Linked DNA regions of Homo sapiens: region 1 is linked to region 2. The links are contacts of gene promoters, found by promoter capture Hi-C in human tissues and cell types (Jung and others, 2019). All regions are on one chromosome and are shown on one strand. The core of a region is centred on a gene start or on the middle of the fragment in contact, and the rest is flanking DNA. Distances in the headings are between cores, read along the strand shown. Region 1 overlaps LYN (LYN proto-oncogene, Src family tyrosine kinase). Region 2 holds the start of TCEA1 (transcription elongation factor A1).

The links. Contacts are between HindIII fragments. The study calls those that stand out against the background at their distance.
Region 1: a contact is called between a fragment that was not itself captured here and the fragment with the promoter of TCEA1 in region 2, in 1 of the 25 tissues and cell types used here (aorta).

Annotation. Positions count from the first base shown.
Region 1 is chr8:55,989,024-55,992,421 of GRCh38, forward strand. All of the region lies in intron 10 of LYN (LYN proto-oncogene, Src family tyrosine kinase), which reads left to right. Among named protein-coding and RNA genes, the nearest start is that of SNORD54, 83 kb to the right of the region's middle. RefSeq lists enhancers at 1,768-1,857, 2,328-2,387, 2,698-2,797, 3,288-3,398. The HindIII fragment of the contact is 4,763 bases long and covers 1-3,398 here.
Region 2 is chr8:54,020,337-54,023,962 of GRCh38, forward strand. TCEA1 (transcription elongation factor A1) reads right to left here and starts at 2,112. Exons shown (of 10, transcript NM_006756.4): 1 at 1,727-2,112. The coding sequence starts at 1,789. The region is part of intron 12 of LYPLA1-TCEA1 (LYPLA1-TCEA1 readthrough); the gene reads right to left. LOC133039971 (Uncharacterized LOC133039971) reads left to right here and starts at 1,697. Exons shown (of 3, transcript NR_189620.1): 1 at 1,697-2,046. RefSeq lists silencers at 1,561-1,730, 2,858-3,165 and enhancers at 1,851-2,644, 1,901-2,050, 2,645-3,436. The HindIII fragment of the contact is 39,045 bases long and covers 1-3,626 here.

The DNA of each region.
Region 1 (3,398 bases), core at 608-3,107, 2.0 Mb after region 2:
CTTCATTATTTGTCCAAAGCATTGCTCATGTTCTCTGGTGGTAGCAGCCGGGTATGTGTGCTGAGCAAACAGTCCACAGGGCACATGCCCAGCAAGGCTGGTGATGGCTCAGAGCCTGCGCCTCGGGTGGGAGAGAGCTTGCTGGAAGCCGGTTTCACCGTGTGGGATGCTGGGGTTGACAGACTTCTCACTGGGCCTTTGAGAAAAGCGGGAAAGATGAATGACCTGGATGGTCATCACTAGGAAGCTACTAAGCAGGGGCATTATTTGAGCTCTGCTTGGATTTGTAAAACATAATTGAGATTGTGCTCTCTATCAAACCCGCATAAAAGAAGTCCATCTGATATATTACCTAGGGCCTTGGTGGTTAGGAATTTCCCATCTCTGGTGTGGTCATAGGCAACCCACTTCTCAGTGGGTGTGTTTGATGACACAAAACCGCAGTGCCTCATGAGGGAGAGCCCGGTTGCCTTTCCTCGAGAAGGTCCAGGCAGGTGCATTTGGATAGGGCTTGCTGAGCCTACTCACATGGACACTCCCCATTCAGGAAATAGCAACTTGGACTTTCTACTTTAACATTGTTAGAGGAGAGGGAATTTAAATGAGTGCATTCCACTCAAATGTTTCTAAAACTTTGGTCTCATTTAACCAAACCAAAAACCATCTGAGACAGGTCTCCATCAATTTAGAGGTTTATTTTGCCGAGGTTGAGGACCATGGCTCATGACACAGCCACCAGAGATCCTGGGAACATGTGTCCAAGGTGGCTGGGATACAGCTTGATCTTACACATTTTAGGGAGACAGAAGTTATAGGCAAAGACATAAATCAGTACACAGAAGGTGTACATTGGTTCAACCCAGGAAGGCGGGATGTCTTGAAGCTGGGAGGGGAGGCTTCCAGGCCATAAGTGGATTCAAAAATTTCCTGATTGGCCAGGCACAGTGACTCATGCCTGTAATCCCAGTACTTTAGGAGGCCGAAGTGGGTGGATCACCTGAGGTCAGGAGTTTGAGACCAGCCTGGCCAACATGGCAAAACACTGTCTCTACTAAAAATATAAAAATTAGCCAGGCATGGTGGCGGACACCTGTAGTCCCAGCTACTCAGGAGACTGAGGCAGGAGAATCGCTTGAACCCAGGAGGTGGAGGTTGCAGTGAGCTGAGACTGTGCCACTGCACTCCAGCCTGGGTGATAGAGTGAGACTCTGCCTCCAAAAAAAAAAAAAAAAAAAAAAAAGTCCTGATTGGCCATTGGTTGAAGGAGTTAAGCTTTGCCTGAAGAGTTGTAGTAAGCTTGAGTTAAGGTATAGGAAGTGGTGGTTGTAGAAGCAAAGGTTCTTATCATGTAGATGAAGACTTCAGGTAGCAGGCCTCAGAGAGAACAGATGTGAATGTCTCTTATGGGACCTTAAAAGGTGTCAGTTAAATCTCTCCTGGATCAGGAAAAGACTTGGAAAGGGAATGGGATTCTCTATAGAATATAAATTTCCCCCATAAGAGATGGCTTTGCAGGGCCGTTTCAAAATTTGTCAGAGAAATATATTTTAAGGTAAAATACTTTGATCTTCTTTAGAACCTGTTATCTGTCATGTGATGTTATACTAAAGTCTGGTTGGAATTTGGTATCTTATTGCTGCAAAGAGTCTGTTTATCAGTCTCAGGATCTCTATTTTAATGTGAATGCTGGTCATTGGTGTCTACACTCCAAAAGGGAGAAGGGCATAATGAGTCATGTCCAATTCCCCCTTCTCATCATGGCCTGAACTAGTTTTTCAGGTTTCTTTGAAATCCCCTGGGCCAAGGGGAGGGTCTACCCAGTTGGTTAAGAGGCTTAGAATTTTAATTTTGTTTTACATGTTTTAAACCTCATACCCTGGGGAAAAAGTTATTTGCAAAGTAAATAGGACTCTAAATTTTGTATTCTGTCCCCACTCTGCCCAGCTTAAGTGTGTGCCTATTTAAGGGTGTCTGTGTGTGTGAAATCATACTAGAGATGTGAATATACCAACAAATAGAGACACGCCGGCAGTACTACCACGTCAACTTAAGCAGCTGTGTCCATAGTGGCCTCTGAGATGCTGCTCGGGGTCTGAGGTCTATCCCTGATCCCACTCTGCCACCAGCCCTGACAGCTGGGTTGCCTCCACCTGGAGGAAGTGGCACCTTTTCTCACCTGCTGTGGCCCCAAGGGTATCTTTGTTGAAGGGTTGACACTTCCTGTTTCACACCAGCAGTGGGGGAGAAAGTCCTGCCCCTTTGGGGTCAGAACGTTGGGTAAGACCTTACTTCTCTCTTTCTCTGGTCCACTTGTGCCTCTAGCTGCCTCAAAGCCCTGACTTATGGAAGGCATCTGTTCAGCTGACTGGCAGTGGAGGAAGAGGCAGACACTTGGTGACTAACTCCTTTTCTTCTCATTGTATGTTACAAAGGCCACTCTAGATGACTGGAAGTCTATCTATCCAGCCAAACAAGATAAGCCTGCCCATTAACTCAGGAAGCATTATTATTAATATGTTCTGTGCACCTAGACTTTTCATTGTGTACAAGATGCCAAGAGTTTCACCAGAACCCCCCACCCCCAGGATTTGCTCTCTGACCCAGTAGTTCTGTGCCTCCTCCCAGGACAGCAGTGGGCTCAGCATGGTCTTCTTTGTCATCAGCTTCAGGCACAGGCGTTTTCAGGAAACAATCACCTTGCTCCACACTCAGAGTTTTGGTCATGGTGCACCCCCACATGCTCCCTTGTCCCTGTGCTCAGTAAACCGCTTTTTAAAAACGAAAATGAAAAACACAGAAACAGCACAGGTAGAAAATACCATCATATGTTTTCACTGAAGGCAAAAAAAGAAACTAAAAAATGTGCATTGGCCATGCTATTTGAATCAAAGAGCACAAGAAGCATCAGCACATCTCAGCTTAAGTCAAGAGTATGGAAACCTCACTGACATCGTCTCTTTACGTGATTAGTCTCATTTTTGGTAATAGGGATGCTTTTTATTTCAGATTTCCAGTAGCTTCACACATCAACTTTCTGAGACAGAGTTAGACATCAGCACTGGGTGAAAGAGACAGTTTAAATTAGTTCTTTGGTGTCGGCAGGTGGTTTAGAAAGTTGGGGTTTTCTTGTCTTTGTTCACCCCTGGGCCTGACATTATAATGAAGAGAATCACATGGCCTAAGATGAAGAGAATCTCCTCATTTGGTTTAGAACCAAAAGATTTTATCGGTTTCCCAAGCTCTGTGAGTAATGTCTCTGGGCCCAGAGCTGTGATAGAGAGGGAGAGGAGCTGAGGCCTGACCCTGTATCCCCTGCCTCCAAGCCATGAGGCCCACAGGGTCCTGACCTAAGTTGCAGGAAAAACAAGCTCAAGCCATGTGTTCCAAACAGTTGATGG
Region 2 (3,626 bases), core at 862-3,361:
AAATGAAGGGCCATATCAATGGGGAGGAAAAATGGCACTGGTAATATCTAGAACAGAAAATAAACAGGAAATACTTTAAAAGGCCAAAATTTGCAAATACAGATTAACAGGGTATGAAATGAAATACGAGGCAATGCACCTGTTAAAGGAAAAAGGGGAACAGAGGATGTTTGAAGTCTTACGTATTTAGTGTTAACACTAATTCCTGATCTAGCTGTCATGTGGAAAGCATGCTGTCCAGAAGAAAACCTGGGTCCTGGCTTATTCCAAACTACACAGTACTTAATTTAAGTAGTAGTACTTAATCTCTCTCAGTGTCTTAATCTGTAAAATGGATACCCTTTATGTACTCACAGCTCTGTGTGAGTCACAAAAGAATTTTGAGCAGATGCTTTTTAACTCCAAAGTGCTGTACAAATCAGAGCATCCCTTTTCTCTTCACATTAGTTTGACATGGAATTTACTTCATAGATGGAAGAAAAATTATTTCAGGTACACTGATGATGAAAATGTGCCGAACGTGGTTAAACAAATTTAGGTGAGGACAATTATATAAGTTTACCTGAGAGGCCAGGCGCAGTGGCCTCACGCCTGTAATCCCAGCACTTTGGGAGGCTGAGGTGGGCGGATCACCTGAGGTCAGGAGTTCGAGACCAGCCTGGTTAAGATGGTGAAACCCCGTTTCTACTAAAAATACAAAAAAATAGCCAGGCGTGGTGGCGCACGTCTGTAATCCCAGCTACTCGGGAGGCTGAGGCAGGAGAATCACTTGAACCCGAGAGGCGGAGGTTGCAGTGAGCCGAGATCAAGCCATTGCACTCCAGCTTGTGCAACAAGAGTTAAACTCCGTCTCGAAAAAATATGTTTAGCTAAGAACAGATGAGTCTGAAGCAAGGGACTGAAAGTGCCACACAAATGGGCAAGCTGTAGAAACTGGTCGTATGAGGATTTCTTACAAACCACAAAAGCATATGCTTACATGAATATTCATCAATAACAAAAAAAATGCCACCAGTATTAACTGTAAACCACTTAGAAAATACCCAACAATATAATTTGTCCAAATCCCTCTACCAGCATTCCGGTGAGTGTGCGTGCTGTAGTCCTAACTCTTCTGTACATTACGACAGGACAAAACCCGCTTTTTATAAAACGTTTAGCAACTCGCCAAGAAACTGGCACACTTTACCTTTTTAATCGCTAAGCAAACATGTAGCACAGTTGAGATAACCAGGCGGACGTTCAGCCCTCTTCAAAAATAAGACACAGAAGTTTTACATTTTACCAGCCCGATGTCTAATACCGATCACAAGCCTCTATTTGATGCTCTTTCTAGATGTTGGCCACGGATCACGGAAGACTCCATTCTTTCAAGTTCTGAGGACTTTCTACGCTTCAATTCCTAAGCTAAATTGCCAAGGTTTTACTAGCACGAAAGTTTAAAGTCAACGGAGAGCGTGCCCTAATCCCTAAATCGATTAGGTTTATTACACGGCACCAGCGAGCAGGGACTGGAAATACAAGAGCGAGCGGGTCCTAACGCAGGTTGCCGCGGGACCCGACGCCCCGGGCCCGGACACCCTCCCCGGGGACGCGGGCGCGGCGGGCCCGGCTCCCAGACGGGAGGCTGCAGGGGGAGGGGAGGGAGAAGGAGGGAGGGGGCGGCCCCCTCGGGCCGGACCGCGGCCCGGCCTCCCTCCCGGCCCGCGCCGCTCGCCGCGCTCACCGCGTTCTTCTTCTGCACCATCTTGTCCATCTTCTTGGCAAAGCGGACCACTTCGTCCTCCATGGCTCCGGCAGGTCTTCTCCGCGCCCACCCCGCTGGCAAGGGGAAGTGGGCGAAGCTGGAGCGGAAGACACAGCAGGAGCGACCCCCGGCGCGCAGCAACCCCCACCACCGCAGGCCCGGGCCTAGGCCCCCTTCCTTACGAACGAAGCCCGCGGCGGCGGCGGCGGCGGCGGCGGCTCCGGCTCCTCCTCCCCAGGCAGCGACAATCGAACACCGCGCGCGACGTGCAGGCGCTACCAACTGACTGCAGATCGCTGGTGAGGGGCGAGCCCATGTTCCCGCCAGGCGGGCGTCGGGCTAGTGGGCAGGCGTGGCTTCCGGCTAGAGGGTCGTGGAAGGCGCCCGGTTTTGCTGCGCGTTCACCTCCGGTCCCGCCCCCTCACGGGGCGGGTTTTCGGCCCCCTATTGCATCGGGACATCCCGGAGTTTTAGAACTCGCGGAGGCCCAAGTATCTCGAAACGGGGGCAGATTCCGAGCATGGAACTTTGGCAGGTTTTAAAGTCTGTGGGAAGCCAAGCACTTTCTCCATAGGAGACTGCTACGGGGAAAAATGGAACCCGTGTCCTCTAAGTTAGGTTACGGAGTTACTCGTTTTAAGAGTTCCTTTTTTTTTGAGACGGAGCCTCGTTCTGTCGCCTGGCTGGAGTACAGTGGCGCGATCTCCACTCACTGCAAGCTCCCCCCCCCGGGTTCAAGCGATTCTCCTGCTTTAGTTTCCCGAGTAGCTGGGACTACAGGCGCCCGCCACCACGCCCTGCTAATTTTTTGTATTTTTAGTAGAGACAGGGTTTCACCATGTTGGCCAGGATGGTTTTGATCTCTTGACCTAGTGATCCGCCCGCCTCGGCCTCCCAAAGTGCTGCGATTACAGACCTGAGCCACTGCACCCGGCTAAGCGTTCCTTTTTTTAAAAAAAATCGGCCGGGCGCGGTGGCTCATGCCTGTAATCCCAGCACTTTGGGAGGCCGAGGCGGGCGGATCAACTGAGGTGAGGAGTTCGAGACCAGCCTGACCAACATGGAGAAACATCGTCACTACTAAAAATACAAAATTAGCCGGGCGTCATGGCCTGTGATCCCAGCCACTCGGGAGGCTGAGGCAGGAGAATCGTTTGAACCCGGGAGGCGGAAGTTGCGGTGAGCCGAGACTGCCATTGCATTCTAGCCTGGGCGACAAGAGCGAAACTCCGTCTCAAAAAAAATAAAAAATAAATAAAGGTGAAATCGTTCGTGAGCTCCTGGAGTACTAAGAACCAGTCTTGGGCATGGCATTTTGAATAGTTGAAGAACAGTTGACGGAAACCTTCTGGTCAGAAATTACACAAGGCATCCCACCAGCTTCTGAGGATCAGAGAGGAAGGTGACTTAAGTTGTGACAGGGTTCATAGTGGAGAATGCAGGCTCCTCCAAAAAGTCTTTCCCCACTTAAACCCTTCACGACCAACTCATGCTATTTGCAGGTATAACTCCCACACCACGTAACTATCATTCATCAAAATACACCGCCTAATAATGTTCTTTCTATACTGAGATGACAGGTTTTTCCTGGTTATGACTCACTCATTTGGGGGAGAAGTATTGGGATCGTTTCCCTATTTTGTTTCATTTTTAAATTATCTTTTTATTATTGATTTCCAGCTTAAATTGTAGTATTTGTTGAGATTTATTTTGTCAATTTTTTTTTTTTTTTGACACGGAGTTTTGCTCTTATTGACCAGGCTGGAGTGCAGTGGTGCCATCTCGGCTGGCTCACTGCAACCTCCACCTCCCAGGTTCAAGCGATTTTCCTGCCTCAGTCTCCTGAGTAGCTGGGACTACAGGCGCCCACCAGCACACC